Regions from separate parts of the Homo sapiens genome. Here regions 2, 3 and 4 are each linked to region 1. The links are contacts of gene promoters, found by promoter capture Hi-C in human tissues and cell types (Jung and others, 2019). All regions are on one chromosome and are shown on one strand. The core of a region is centred on a gene start or on the middle of the fragment in contact, and the rest is flanking DNA. Distances in the headings are between cores, read along the strand shown.

Region 1 (3,798 bases), core at 397-2,896:
TCACTCAGTCCACACGACACGAGGGCCCAGCACACATCAGGCACCCAGAACAAGAACAGGTGGCTGCCCTCCAAGAGCTGATTTGCATGGGAGTGTGGGAGCGGGGGATAATTAATAATAAATATAATAAGGAAATCATATAGAAAGTGGAAATGGGAAGTGTTGGGGGGGCAGAATGCTGCAGATATCCTAAGGAGATGTGCCAGAGCCAGCCCAATGCCCATCCTTCCCTTGGCTACAGGCGGCACTTGTGACTTGAATCTGAGTAGAACTGGGCCGAGGGGGTGGCATGTCACCCACAATTAGGTTCTGTTCCACAGGACTCCATCTGGGGGTGGGGCTCTCCCACGGACCCTGGGGAAGCGGCCACCCTGTGAACCGCCCACCCTCCCACAGTAGGGACTGGCAGGCAGCCCCCGGGAGCTGAGAGCAGCTCCTGCCGGCCCTCAGTCCTACAGGCACCAGGACATGACTTCTGCCAGCAATCGCATGAGGTGGGAAGTGATCCTTCCCCAGTCCAGCCCCCAGATGAGAACACAGCGGCTGACCAGAGCTGAGGACCCAGCTAAGCCTGGCCTTCTGGCCCACAGAAGCCTTGAGATAATAGGCGGATGTCGTTTTAGGACACCCAATTTGCGGTACGTAGGGAACTAACACGCGGGGCTCTGGCGGGCCTGGCGGCTCAGTGCGATCTGGGCAGGCAGGAAGTGGAGTGAGCACAGCCAGCGGCTGGGAGCACATCCCGGAGGGGCTGCCTGCGGCGGGAGGAGCGGCAGGGGCCACGTGGTGGGGGACGGCTCGCCAGGGCGCGCACGCGGTGGCGGCGGCGGTGGAGGCGTTGCCCGCCTAGCTAGGGGCCCGCGGCCTGGAGAGGCGTCGGTTCTCCTTCCGCGCTGAAGGCGGAGACAGCGACTTCCCGTGGAGGCAAGCCGTGGGCGCCGCGGAGGCGGGGGCTGGGGGTCGGCGGAGGCGGGAGCTGGGGGTCGGCGGGGGCTGGGGGTTGGCGGGGAGCGTCCTCAGGGACAAGTCTCCCAGCACGCGGCCGCGACCTCCCCGTTGGGGGTCTGGAGCCAGGAGCCCACGCGCGTCGGATCCGGAGAGTCTGGTGGGCGCAGCCTACGTGACAGGGTCGGCTCGGGACCGAGCTGCTGGGGACTGGGCCTTGCGGGGCGGGGCCGCTGGGGGCGGGGCATGAGGGTGCCGGTTCGGGGCGGGGCTTTTTGGGGGCGGGACATGGGGCGGAGCCTGGGGGCGGAGCATGTGGGGAGGTGGCTGGGGAGGAACTTTCGGGGGCGGGACACGAGGGCGGAGCCTGAGGGGGCGGGGCATGAGGGGAAGCCGGCTCGGGAAGGAGCTTTCGGAGGCGGGGCCCGCTCGGGGAGGGACCTGATTTCGGGGGAGCCTTCGGGAGGGCGCCTGCCATAGACGACTGTAAAGGGGCGGGGTCAGCTCGGGGAGGACCCTGCGGGCGTGGCGGCAGTTATGGGTGAAGCCTGAGGGGGCGGGGCCTGATCGGGGCGGGGTCTTCGGGGGCGGAGTCGGCTGGGGATGGAGCCGCTCGGGCCGAGCCCTCCACCGCCCACCATCACCGAGTCCGGCCCAGGCTCCTAGCGCGGCCGCCGGAAGGGGCGGGTCAGCGGGCGGGCATTTCCTGCCGGTGCCTAGGGCCGACGGGGACGCTGGCACTGGTGGGGAGCTGTTGGGGGGTCCCGCATCTAGGGCTCTCCTTTCCTGCCTCCGGCCCCCGCGAGGGGCGCGCGCCTCTCCCCGCCCTCCAGCAGTCCTGGTAGGGCCCGGGCGCGTCCGCGCTCTGCAGCGGGAGGTCCTCGTCGCCTCTCGTCTCCAGCCAGGTACTCACTGGGCTCCTGCCTGCCGCCTCCGGCCCAGGACGCGCAGCGTCGGTATGGGCCCCGCCGCCTCCCCGCACCCCGGCGCTCCAGGGATGTGGCAAGACCCGGCTTTGAGCACCTCCCGGGCGCCGGCCCCGAGGCCGACCTAGCTCTGCACGTGGGCCGCGGGGCTCTGCCGTTGAAAGGAGAGCCTCTAACTAGGAGCACGCACGGGACCCTGGCGGGCCCCTCCGCCTGGCTCAGATGCCTGGCATCTCAGGCCTTGGCACAGCTAGCAGGCCCCTGGCAGGCCGTGGACCCAGCAGGCTGTTTTAGTGCAGATTGCCCCTGAATCTCAAGCCCACTAATGTTCCAGTCTCTCCATGAGACCCAGATCCCTGAAAGTAGTGGAGGGAGGCGCCAGGGTGAGTGAGGTTTTCTAGGCAGCCCTTACCGCCCACGGATACCCAGAGCTTCATATTACAAGTGAAGGGTCCTCCGCCCAGAGAGGCGACGGAGCTACGCTGGAGTTGCACGACAGAACCAGAACCCCAGTCTTTAGGGGTGTGGCAAGCGTGGGTTGCGCTGTTTGTAACTAGCTAATCACTCCTGTCTACAGGCCTGTGAGGTGAGGCCAAGAAAATCGCTATGGTCCAATCCGTTTTTGTTTTTTGCGTGTGGGGTTTTTTGTTTTGGTTTGGTTTGGTTTTTTTGTTTGAGACGGAGTCTTGTTCTGTCGCCAGGCAGGAGTGCACTGGCGCGACCTTTGCTCACTGCAACTTCTATCTCCTGGGTTCAGGCAATTCCCCTCCCTCAGCCTCCTGAGTAGCTAGGACTACAGGCACGTGCCACCACGCCCAGCTAATTTTTTGTGTTTTGGTAGGGACAGGGTTTCACCATGTTGGCCAGGATGGTCTCGATCTCCTGACCTCGTGATCCGCCCACCTCGGCCTCCCAAAGTGCTGGGATTACAGGCATGAGCCACCGCGCCCGGCCAGTCCACTCTGCTTTTAAGAAATATTTTATTTCTCAGGGTGGGCAGCGTGTAGAGAAGTGAGTCATTCCAGTCTCTGCCGGTTAGCACCTGCCAGCCTAAGTTGAGTCGACAGAGCCGTTATGGAGAATGTTCCCTGACCACAGTATGTGACTAGGATTTGGAGATAAAAAAGATACGATCCTCGCCTTCAGGAGACCCTGTCGCATAAGGAGACTGCCATGTCAGTGACCAGCCACACGTGCAGTGACAAGTGTCTGGAAGAAGGAACAGTGCTGTACAGCATGGAGGACCCCCACACAGGCCTCGGGCAGCAGCCGTTAGGCTCAGTGGGTTCACAAACCACCCCCCGCCCCGCCGTGGAGTGGAGTCTGCAGAGAGCCAGATAGGTTCCCGCCATGCCCTGGAGAGCTGCCGTTTCTCCAGCTCCGCCCTGCCCATGAGGCAAACAGCTGGTCGACTGGTCTTCTGTGCTGGTTCTTGGTTCTCACCTTTGTTTCCTACCAGAGCTGGACCCCGGCCTCAAACTCCAGCCAGCTTGGGCTGTGATCCTCTATCCTGGGCACCAGGGCCCACCCCCTGCCCACCCCAGCAGAGATGCTGCTTTATGCCTGCATCCTCCCTCAGCACACGTGGCCTTCATCTTCAGTTCTGGCGCCCACCTGATCTGCCTCCTCCCACACGCCACCTCTAGATAGAGCCCTAGAAAGTGATGTTGGCCTGAAACTGAGTCACATTCATCTAAACATTTTCCTGTAGAAAAGACCAGACCCTCCTTGTTGAGATAGGAAATCTGTAGTGAGTTTATGTGTTACCTGCACTCATGAGGGAGAGGAGGGAAGGCCACCAACCTCCTCTCAACAAAGAGAATTCAAAGTATTTATGTGTTGAGTTGTGTCACTTACGACATGCATATCAGCTCCACTTTCTACCTAGGGTCAACCCTGGCCTCAAACTCCAGCCTGGTTGACCAAG
Region 2 (3,798 bases), core at 922-3,421, 850 kb before region 1:
ACGGGGGGCAGGCTGCAGGCAGCCTGCGGAGTCAGCGCAGCAGGTTTCCCAGGGGCTGGAAAGCCCATGGAGCACCGCAGATGCCAAGTGACAGTGAGGCTGGAGCTGCCAGGAAGATCTGTCGCCAGGGGGCGGCACCGCCGGATCTACCCCTCAGCAAGATGCAGAATTAAGGGGCCCAGGCTGGAGGCTGTGACCGGCGAAAACGCCCAGGTACCACGAAGCAGCAGAAGCAACGGTTCTCCCCACTTGCAATTCCGCCTCCTGCGCCCACTCCCAGCACACCACGCTCATCAGCACCTTCCCACAAGTGAGCAGCAGCGGGAAGGAGGTCAGACTCCCAGCAAGGAATCCAGCTCCTCATTAGCACCGAGGGCAGCCAGCCCAGGAAGGAGGCTGCTGTGTTGTGTTGCTTCTTTCTAATGTTGGGAGAGACTGATTCTGGGCTCTGGTTTAAAAACATGTCCCCTTCCAAATACTTCGCTAGAATGGATCATGGGTCCAGATGGAGGGCAGCCAAGGTGGCCCGCTCTGTCCAGGGCAGACGCCTGTGGCTCTCTTTGTCCGTGGCTCTGTCCAGGGCAGACGCCTGTGGCTCTCTTTGTCCGTGGCTCTCTGACAGGACCCTTGATGACCCATGCCCTCAGAACACTGGCCCTCATCTTCCCCAGACCATGCCACACTCAACTCCTTCACCATCACCCCTCCAATGCCCAGCTTCCCATTGGTACAGGTTCAGTGTGCACCCCTCAGATGACACCCAGGGTCAGGCTCAGGCGATAAACACAAACACACACACACACACGCACACACCCGCGCACCTGGCCCCAAAGCCCTGGAAACGCTTGACTCAGCTAGACACCATCCACAGGCAACCACAGCCTCTGGGGGCTCACACCACCCCGACCTCCTAGCCTCAAGCCTTATGGGAACAAGAATCTTGAGCTCCGCCCACCTCCCCTCTCCATCAGAAATCTCAACCTCCATACCTGGATTCCTTCAAGCCTGTGAACCCCTGCCACACTCTGCTCTGGAACATCATCTCAAGATGGAAGGGAGGGACAGGATTAGGTCTTTATTAGTGCAGTAATTGCCATTATTAATAACATCCTCTAACTCAACAGGGAATTTTTGTTTGTAAAGCTGCTTCCAGCCTGGTCCCCCTGGAGAGCAGCAGGGCAGGATCGCCAGGTGGGCCGGGCAGCAGAACGGTGAGCAATGCCTCTGATTTCTGCCTCTGATCAGAATCCTGGTGAGAACACCAGGGCTCAAGTCATGGCTGGGCATTTACCACCCCCGTGACTTCAGGTAAGTTTCCCAAGGCTGGGAAGTTTCCTGATCTGAGGAGCAGGAAGAGCCTAGCAGGTGCCTGACAGATGCCCTGTGGTCAAAAGCAGGAGGTGTTGTTATAATCAGAATCCAAGACAGCCTGACGCTCAGGTCTACTGTGCGAGCTGGCCGTGCCATGGCTGACCAGGTAGAGCAAGCTCTGTGATGTGTGTAGCAGTGGCGAGGCAGCCCGAGGGTCTCACAGGAGAGAGGCAGCTCCACCTGCCCTGGGGCTGCACTCCCTGACCTTCCACAGCCCCTATGTGTGGCAGTGGCGAGGCAGCCCGAGGGTCTCACAGGAGAGAGGCAGCTCCGCCTGCCCTGGGGCTGCACTCCCTGACCTTCCACAGCCCCTATGTGTGGCAGTGGCGAGGCAGCCCGAGGGTCTCACAGGAGAGAGGCAGCTCCGCCTGCCCTGGGGCTGCACTCCCTGACCTTCCACAGCCCCTCTGTGTGGCAGTGGCGAGGCAGCCCGAGGGTCTCACAGGAGAGAGGCAGCTCCGCCTACCCTGGGGCTGCACTCCCTGACCTTCCACAGCCCCTCTGTGCACCTTGGGAATTCTTCCCTACACCCCTCAGGTGATGTCCCCCAAGACGCCCGGAGATTCCAAGTCTCTGGGACAGACACAATGCTGCCCACCTCCCAGGAGGCTGCAGGATCAGACTAATGACATGGAAAGGCAGGGCTCCTGGAGGGGCCAAGTGACATGGCCAGGGTCCCACGGCTAAGATGTGGCAATGCTGTGTCCCTACCTGGATGTTACGTAAGTCAGGGCTGGGTTGTAGCCCTCCCCACAGGGCAAATCAGAGGGAGAAAACGAGGCAATCTTCCACTGTGGAAGAAAACAACAGTTGATCTGGCCACAGCACTGGGCCAGAGGCTCCCAGGCCAGCGTGAGTGCCTGGCTCTGCTCACTGGCTTCCATGCTGGGGAGGGCTCGAGCCTGCAGCCTGAAGCCCAGGGTTGCCAGGACAATGAGCAGCAGCTGCTGCCAGTCCACTCAGCTGCGTGGCTAGCCCACCAATCCATCGAGGGGGCCCACAGCGCAGCCACCACAAGGCACCCAGCACACAGTGCCAAGGCATGGAGCCTGGCCCCTGCAGGCTCCAGACACAGGCCCTCGGTGTGGCACTGCTCCACCCAGCCCTGTCTCCAGACCTCTTCGGCAAACCTCAGCCTGGGCCCCGGGTTCCCTGCTCAGCACCAACAGCCATCAGAAAAGCCCAGGCCTCACCCTGCCTCCCAAGACCCTCACAGGCTGACCCGAGTCAGACCTGCCTACTAGGAGTCCAGCACTGCTGTGCCTTCCCTTGGGCCTCCCGCTGCCTGGAGTAGCTGCCTCTCCTGCCCTCCCCAGCTAAGGCCACTCAGCTCTCCAGACACAGCTCAGGCCTCACCAGCATCCAGGATTCTTCCCAGGTATCTACCCAGCCCTGCCCAAAACGCACCCCCAAACCCTCCCAAAGCGCACCCCCAGCCCTGCCCAAAACACACCCCTAGCCCTGCCCAAAACATGTCCCCAGCCCTGCCCAAAACACACCCCCAGCCCTGCCCAAAACACACCCCTAGCCCTGCCCAAAACATGCCCCCGGCCCTACCCAAAACACACCTCCAGCCCCAAAATATGCCCCCAAACCCTCCCAAAGCACATCCCCAGCCCTGCCAAAGCACAACCCCAGCAGAGTCAGCTCCCCTCTCCACCTCCTCACTCCACCGCCTCAACCTTGCTCTGTAAGGTGCCCTCTCCACCTCCTCACTCCACCGCCTCAACCTTGCTCTGTAAGGTGCCCTCTCCACCTCCTCACTCCACTGCCTCGACCTTGCTCTGTAAGGTGCACAGCAGTGTCCGGAGCAAGGCCAGGACAGCCTGATCCTGCTTGCCACTGTGTCCATCCCAAGACTCATGCCAGGCATGGCCTTAGCATAGTCTCACAGAACATTACACATCTCAGACAGCAGCCCTGATGGCAGGGGCAGGGGCTGGGGACTTGCCAATGACCCTGTCCAGGCAGGAACACCCAGTAGACTGTCCTGCTTGCCTGCAGTGGCCCCCAAGTGGGTTCACATCCTAACAGGACCTACCCAAGGACAAAAAAGGAAGGGCCCTGTGCAGCACAGTCCGGATTTGAAGCCCACACGGAGCCACCTTCACCCCCATCCCAGACTCAGCAAGCCGCAAGTTGACGAGAGAATCTCATAGCCTGGATAAGGCCAGGCAGGACAGCCACAGCTGGCTTCTGAGGACAGCCCTGGATGGCAAGCAGGACACCCCGAAGCAAGGCCCCTGCAGGAGACACCGCCCAACTGGGCTCCGTAGGTGAGGACACCCCGCCCATAAGGCATCTTCAGAAACCTATTCAAGGCACCTGGCTTGTCATTGTTGGTAGTGCCCTTCTTCTCTGCCAGGGAACTCAGACCAAGAAAACTCTTCCTATGGAAGCTTCCAGATGGCTCCACCATGCAGCACT
Region 3 (3,798 bases), core at 613-3,112, 570 kb after region 1:
CACAGTGGACAGATGCCATGGCCTGCAGGCCGTCTGCAGCCCCAGCGGACACTCCCCAGACCCCACCCAGCCCCTGCCCAGGCTCCCCACCGTTCCGGGACACGTCCAGCTCCACCAGCTGCATGAAGTTGGCCACCTCGGGAGGCAACCGCTGGATCTCGTTGTCGCTCAGGCCCAGCTTGCGCAAGTTCAGCAGCCGGAAAAAAGGCTGTGGGCAGGGAGGACACGGACTCTGTGGCAGAGACCACTGCAGAGCAGAGAAGAGCTCCTGGACACGTGAGTGTCACAAGTCAAGAGTCCCTAGGCCTCTGTCTGCTCCAGGTCACACCGGGTCCTGGGGTCTAACCACGACACCCCATTTGCAAAAAAAGGAAAGAAACACACGGTACACACGCCCACTGTGGCTGCCTCCCTCTACTCTTCACACCAGCCTCCACTCTGAGAAGACACCTGCTGGCGACCAGACAAAGCCCCAATCCCCTACCCTGTGTCTTACCTCAGGGCCCACCCAGCCCCTGAACCACTTCTGCCACCCTCCAGGGGCCCACACTGGCCTCTGCTACTGCATCCTGACAACAAGCCTGGCCTGGTTCTGCAGCAAGAACTCAGTAAACGCTCCCCACAATAACACAGTACCACAGGCACAGTGCTACGCGCGAGGCCTGCAGGTGGCCACAGAGGACCGAGCTGTCACTGCCACGGCCAGAACAGGGTCACATTCTTTGGGACACCCAACCCCTAGGTACTGATCACCCAGCACCCCATCTCCAGAAAAGAAATACTTTTTAATCTGCTTTCTCCAGCCTCCTTTCTTGTAGCAGCCTTAGGAGAGCACCTGACCACGAGAAGCAAGGGTAAAGAAAGGGGGACAGCGAACAGATCCGAGAGCAAAGAGTACATCAAGAGGGCTCCCCCACTCACCCCTGCACCCAGCAAAAAAGGAGAGGAGGTCTGGACCCACCTCCAGAGCGGCCCAAGAAGCTAGTACTCATCAGCCACCTGAATCCAAGTTCCACCCTAACCCCATCCACCTCCCTGAATCCCCACGGGTTTCACTCTGAGGCTCCGCCTCCAGGCTCGGTGACAATCGCTATCCCCAGGCAAGCACCTGATGACCGCTGCCACCTGCGCCAGCCAGGGCGGCTGGAAGAGAAGGGTGGGGCTGGCTGGGGTGGGGACCTGGCCAGTGCAAACCAGCAGGGCCGGCTGGAGGCTGCGGTGACTCGCCCGGGCAGATTCTGCCGCCGGAGGAATCACGGGCTGGGGGCGCGCCTTTGGGCGGCAGGTGCGGGCGGCCGCTCACCTTGGGCAGCTCGCGCAGCTGGTTGGCGTCGAGCAGCAGCTCCTCCAGGCTGCGGCTGTAGCGGTAGATCTCCTCCGGCACGGCCTGCAGCGAACAGTGCCGCTTGTCCACCGACTCCACGTGCCGGTTGCAGCGCCACAGCGGGATGCACTTGAGCATGGTGCGGGTGGGCGGCGCGGGCTCCGGCGGCGGCGCTCGGCGGGCTCGGGGCCGGGGGGCGGGGCTCAGTCCGCATGGGCGCCGCGCATGGGGAGGGGGCGCAGGCAGGGGGCGGGCCGCCCGAGACTGGACGGGGACGCGGCCGCGGCCGGCGCTGGGCCCGGCCCGCGCTCGGAACGCTCGGACTGCGGGCCTGGGCAGGGGGCGCGGCCCGGCGGGTCTCAGACTCTTAGGAAGCGCGGGGAGCGGCGGCGGCGGCGGCTCCGCATCCCGCTTGGTCCTGCTCAGCTCGTCCCGCCCGCTCGTCCGCCCGCTGTGCCGCACCGGAACCGCCGCTGCCCGCCGGACTGCCCCGCCGACACCCACCCGGCCGCCGCGCAGCCCGTCGGGAAGCCGAGTCCGGCCCTCGCCGCCTAGCACGCCCGGACTGCGGCCCCCAGAAGGCCCCGCGCGCCGCCGCCTCTGAGGACCCGTAGCGGCACCGCGCAAAGCGTGCCGGGAAGCCGGGCCCGCCCCGCGCGCGGGATATTGGGAGCTACAATCCACGAGAGGCGGCGCCCTCCGCCCTCCGGTCTTCAGCCCGGCCCCTGGCCCCGCGGCATTTGGCCACGAATCTTAACGCACAGCCTCCTCCCGGGAAGCGACCATGCCCGCCCGCCCGCCTTGGACGGCCGGCTCTGCGGCACAAAAGCACTGGCAGCGCGCGCTGTCCAGCGGGTCGCGGTGTCCCGGTGCCCAGCCTTCTCTCAGCACCACCCTGCGGGGACGGCTGCGAGCCCGCGCGCGAGAGCCTGGCGCCCCAGGCAGCCCCGCCCACCCAGCCGCCGCCACCCGCGGGACGGGGCCCGGGGCGCCAACCCCCTGCCCAGGTCTCGCCCACGGCAGGCCCCTCCTGCCAACAGGAAGCAGGTCCAGAGACCCCCCCAACCCTGCCTCCTCGCCCTAGACCCCCTAAGGACACACGCCCAGGATCGGTGACAGGACCGACGGCAGACACACGGACGTTCAGGGCCAGCAGCATCCGCACCTTTATCCGCACTGTAGGCTGGGCTGGGCAGAGCGCGCCTGGCCCCGGGGACACCACTGTATCACTATAAAACCCAGAGGAAACAAGGAACAAGTGCAAGTCCGGGGAGAGGGACCACTGTCACGCAGAGAGGTCACTGTTATCAAAACGCTCCTGGTCGTACACTTCAGCCACCACCTTGCGGCCAGCAAACCAGCGGCCATTGAGGGCCTGGATGGCCTTATGAGTCTCAGAGGCTATGGAAAACTCCACAAAGATCTTGACAATGATTTCTGCATCCTCCTCCTCGCCTTGTTTCTCTTGGTAGATGATGACGCGGTTCACGGCCCCGAACTTGCCACACTCCTCTGTCACCTCCCCTTCCAGGTCATCATCGATGTCCTTGGGGTCCACCATGTTGCGCAGAACCATCACTGTAGACTGTGGGGCAGGGCCGAGGGGAAGACAGCTGAGCACTGCGGCCCCGCCCCCCTACCCTCTCCCCCGCCACCACCCTGCCCCTCTGCCTACCTCCTGCTTGCGGAGCAGCTTCTGCATCACCATGTGTCGGGCGCTACTGCCCGAGATGCTCATGTGCTCCTGCTCGCTCAGCATCTCTGGCCGCTCTGACTCGGGAAACAGCTCCTCTTCTTCCTTCTCCTTCTTGGGCTCCAGGAGACCCAGCGTTGGAGGGCTGGCCAGGATGGGGTTCACCACTCCCACCGAGGGGATGGTGACCGGGATAGGAGGACGGGCTGGGGTCACACCTGCAGGAAAACCAACCAGGTCCATCAGTCACTCCCTACCACCCCCCTTCCCAGAAAGGCACAGAGCTGGCCTGCCCTGGGCTCAGAGGGTTGTGCCCAGACCACCAGGGCCAGGCAGCTGAGGGCAGCGAGCCGAGAGATGCCAGGACAGGAGAGGAGAGGATCTGGTACCACTTAAGACTCACCTGTGATGACTCCAGGTGCCTGGGCAGCCATGACAGCCTGGGGCAAAGTGCCCAGGGGCTGGGCCAGGGTCAGTGCTGGGGACACCAGTCCAGGTGTGCCCAGGGTACCCAGCACCGCTGCTCCGGCCACTGCTTCCTGCAACCCAAAAGGTCACCGTGCTCAGTCCCTGGTCTGGCTACTCAAGACCACCTTGAATCAGTCTCCAAGGAATCAGGGGCCAGCCCGCCCACCCTCAAGCCGACAGCTGTGTGGGCCCTCACCTGAGCTGTGATCTTGGCAGTGGCTGCAGCAGCTGCCACAGCAGCGGCAGGTGGGAGGCCTCCAGGCGTGGCTGGTGTGAGTAGGGGCATGGGCGGTGTGACAGCCTTGCCCACCCG
Region 4 (3,798 bases), core at 566-3,065, 530 kb after region 1:
CTTAAAAAATATTGCCAAAGAAGTCAGGAAAAGAGGAAAAGGAAAAGAACCACTGGGACCAGTGGGAAACAAACAGCAAATGGTAGATTTTAACTCCACCATATAAATAATCTCATTACACATGGACATTCTAAACACCCCAATTAAAAGATGGATTGTTGCCGGGCGCGGTGGCTCACGCCTGTAATCCCAGCACTTTGGAAGGCCGAGGCGGGCGGATCACGAGGTCAGAAGATCGAGACCATCCTGGCTAACATGGTGAAACCCCGTCTCTACTAAAAATACAAAAAAATTAGCCGGGCATCGTAGCGGGCGCCTGTAGTCCCAGCTACTTGGGAGGCTGAGGCAGGAGAATGGCGTGAACCCAGGAGGCGGAGCTTGCAGTGAGCCAAGATCGCACCACTGCACTCCAGCCTGGGTGACAGAGTAAGACTCCGTCTCAAAACAAAAAAAAAAAAGATGGATTGTCATTTTGGATTAAAAATTGTAGCTAACTATGTTCTACCTATAAGAAACAAGCTTTAAATGTAAAAGCACAAATAGTTGAAAATTAAAATGATAAAAACAAATATGCCAAGATAACACTAAACAGGATGCTGAAGTAACTGTATTAACATCAAGTAGATTTCAGAAAAAAGTATGTTACTAAGGATAAAAGAATCATTTAGTAATGACAAATGTAGGAATTCATCATGAGGACATAAAAATCCTAAATGTTCATGCAGCTACTAACAGGGTTTCAAAATGCATGAAGCAAAAACTATGAGAACTACAAGGAGAAATAAAGAGATCCACAATGGTAATAGGCGATTTTGCCATCTCTCTCTCCCCATAATTGATGAGACAAGTAGACGGAATATCAGCGATGATACCGAAGAGCTGAACCACGCTGTCCATCACCATCCCTTCATCATTCATCAGTCATCGTTTCCATACATTCACCCACTTCATCCATCTCGCCCCAGTATTGGTTTGCGCTTTCGCCAATTCATAATTATCTTATTAACTTGAGTCATTTATTTATTTATTTAGAGATGGAGTCTTGCTCTGTCACCCAGGCTGGAGGGCAGTGGCGCAATCTCACTGCAACCTCTGCCTCCCGGGTTTATGCGGTTCTCCTGCCTCAGCCTCCAGAGTAGCTGGGACTACAGGCATGCGCCACCACGCCCAGCTAATTTGTTCTTTTGTATGTTAAGTAGAGATGGGGTTTTGCCATGTTGGCCAGCTGGTTTCGAACTCCTGACCTCAGGTGGGCTGCCTGCCTCGGCCTCCCAAAGTGCTGGGATTACAGGTGTGAGCCACCATGCCCAGCCATGAGTCATTTATTTATAAACTTATAAATAAATTTATAAGCTTATATATAAATTTATGAACTTATAAACATATATAAATTTATAAACTTATAAGCTATCCACTCATTAATGTGCCCATTCCACCCTTACACCATGTTTAAATAATTATTCACTTATTTTTTATCTACTATTCATTCAGACATCCATTCATCCATTCATACACGCATTCATGCTGTTTACTTGACAGAAAATTATGAGAAAGCAAAGAAGGACTGTGTCTCGTTCACCCCTTAATCGTATGCCCCAGTATTGGTTGACCACGATAGGCACTGAAACATTTTGTTGAACGATGAATTCATCCATCAATTCATCCATCCAGTTGCTCAACTAACCATTTGCTTATCTCACGTATCCATTCTTTACACTCATTCATCTATTAATTTTTCATGTATCAGTTCATCATTTAATCAGTTCATTCAATTAATCTAATCTTCATTCTCTTATAGTTTAATTCATTAATTTACTCATTCATTCATCATTTATTGCCTATTCATTAAGACACTCGTAAGTTTACTCGTTATATTATCCTTTTATTTTCTGTCTTCATTCATTTTCCGTCTACTCCAGTTCTTCCACTTACAGACAGAACTTTGGCAAGTTCTGAAGCTTATTTGAATCTGTTTCCATATATTCAGAAATGGGACTAATAACAGCTTTTTGAAGATTCATGAGATAGTGAATGAAATTCCTTGGCACAATTCCTGGTGCAAAGTCAGTTCTCAAGAAATGGTAGCTATTATTATTTTAAATGAGTATCACAATTTCTTTTAAGTTACAAAATCATTGCCTCATTCGTATGTCTGTTCACTCTTCCATCCTATTTATCTAGTTATCCATTCATCCCTTCTCTCATTTTAGCTACTCCTTGATTTTATACATCTTCAGACTTTCCTTTTTAATTACAAATGACATACAGAATATTGCAGAAATCAAAGTTGTGGCTCAATTATTTACCACAAAGGAAATACTCATGTAGTAACTACCTGACTCAAGAAATAAAGTATCGCCAGAACACCACACCTCTCCCCAGATCATCATATCCTGAATTTTATAGTGCTTGCTTCCTTCTTTTTTTCAAGTTACAAAACTTTCCTGAAATATGTATAAAGTTCCCAGTTTAATCCTCTCAACAAACCTGATTGTAGTATTATTAATATTCCTACATTATATACAAAGACTTTATTATATACAAAGAAACTTAAGCACAGAGATGTTAAGTCATCTTTTTTTAACTTTTCTTTTAGGTTTGGGGGTACATGTGAAGGTTTGTTATGCAGGTGACATAGTCATGGGGATTTGTCGTACAGATTATTTCCTCACCAGGAACTAAGCCCAGTACCCAATAGTTTTCTGCTCCCCTCCCTCCTCCCACCCTCCACCCTCAAGTAGATCCTAGTATCTGTTGTTTCCTTCTTTGTGTTCCTAAGTTCTCATCCTTTAGCTCCCGTTTACAGGTGAGAACATGTGGTGTTTGGTTTTCTGTTCCTGCGATAGTTTGCTGAGGATAATGGCCTCCAGCTCCATCCATGTTCCTGCAAAGGACATGATCTCATTCTTTTTTTATGGCTGCATAGTATTCCACGGTGTGCATGTACCACATTTTCTTTATCTTGTCTGTCACTGATGGGCATTTAGGTTGAGTCCATGTCTTTGCTATTGTGAATAGTGCTGCAGTCAACATATGCGTGCATGTGTCTTTATGGTACACTGCTTTATATTCCTCTGGGTATATACCCAGTAATGGGATTGCTGGGTCCAATGGTAGTTCTGCTTTTAGGTCTTTGAGGAATTCCCATACTGCTTTCCACAGTGGCTGAACTAATTTATACTCCCACCAACAGTGTGTGTGTGTTCCCTTTTCTCCACAACCTCACCAGCATCTGTTATTTTTTGACTTTTTATAGTAGCCATTCTGGCTGGTATGAGATGGTGTATCCTCATTGTGGTTTTGATTTGCATTTCTCTGATGATCAGTGATATTGAGCTTTTTTTCATATGCTTGCTGGCCACATGCATGTCTTATTTTGAAAAGTGTCTGTTCATTTTCTTTGTTCACTTTTTAATGGGGTTTTCTCTTGTAAGTTTGTATAAGATCCTTATAAATGCTGGATGTTAGACTTCTGTCAGATGCATAGTTTGCAGATATGCTCTCCCATTCTGTAGGTGGTCTGTTTACTTTGCTGATAGTTTCTTTTGCTATGCAGAAGCTCTCATGTTTAATTAGATCCTACTTGTCAATTTTTGCTTTTGTTTTGATTGCTTTTGGTGTCTTTGTCATGAAATTTTTGCCCGTTCTTATGTCCAGGATGGTATTGCCTATGTTGTCTTCCAGGGTTTTTATAGTTTTGAGTTTTACATTTAAGTCTTTAATCCATCTTGAGTTGATTTTTATGTATGGTGTAAGGAAGGGGTCCATCTTCAATCTTCTGCATATGGCTAGCCAGTT

What was found. Contacts are between HindIII fragments. The study calls those that stand out against the background at their distance.
Region 2: a fragment that was not itself captured here is called in contact with the fragment with the promoter of ZFP41 in region 1 in 1 of the 25 tissues and cell types used here (lymphoblastoid cells).
Region 3: a contact is called between the fragment with the promoter of SCRIB here and the fragment with the promoter of ZFP41 in region 1, in 1 of the 25 tissues and cell types used here (dorsolateral prefrontal cortex).
Region 4: a contact is called between a fragment that was not itself captured here and the fragment with the promoter of ZFP41 in region 1, in 1 of the 25 tissues and cell types used here (dorsolateral prefrontal cortex).

Annotation. Positions count from the first base shown.
Region 1 is chr8:143,245,293-143,249,090 of GRCh38, forward strand. ZFP41 (ZFP41 zinc finger protein) reads left to right here and starts at 1,647. Exons shown (of 3, transcript NM_173832.6): 1 at 1,647-1,850. RefSeq lists silencers at 742-901, 1,102-1,991, 2,032-2,081. The HindIII fragment of the contact is 22,994 bases long and covers 1-3,798 here.
Region 2 is chr8:142,395,446-142,399,243 of GRCh38, forward strand. All of the region lies in intron 1 of TSNARE1 (t-SNARE domain containing 1), which reads right to left. Among named protein-coding and RNA genes, the nearest start is that of TSNARE1, 5.8 kb to the right of the region's middle. RefSeq lists an enhancer at 1,167-1,668. The HindIII fragment of the contact is 4,419 bases long and covers 1-3,798 here.
Region 3 is chr8:143,813,911-143,817,708 of GRCh38, forward strand. SCRIB (scribble planar cell polarity protein) reads right to left here and starts at 1,863. Exons shown (of 37, transcript NM_182706.5): 1 at 1,304-1,863; 2 at 91-208. The coding sequence starts at 1,462. PUF60 (poly(U) binding splicing factor 60) reads right to left here. Exons shown (of 12, transcript NM_078480.3): 9 at 3,682-3,798; 10 at 3,421-3,556; 11 at 3,000-3,235; 12 at 2,434-2,909. The coding sequence ends at 2,610. RefSeq lists enhancers at 241-905, 1,190-1,822, 1,823-2,455. The HindIII fragment of the contact is 41,605 bases long and covers 1-3,798 here.
Region 4 is chr8:143,777,754-143,781,551 of GRCh38, forward strand. All of the region lies in intron 7 of IQANK1 (IQ motif and ankyrin repeat containing 1), which reads left to right. Among named protein-coding and RNA genes, the nearest start is that of MIR937, 33 kb to the right of the region's middle. The HindIII fragment of the contact is 4,347 bases long and covers 1-3,798 here.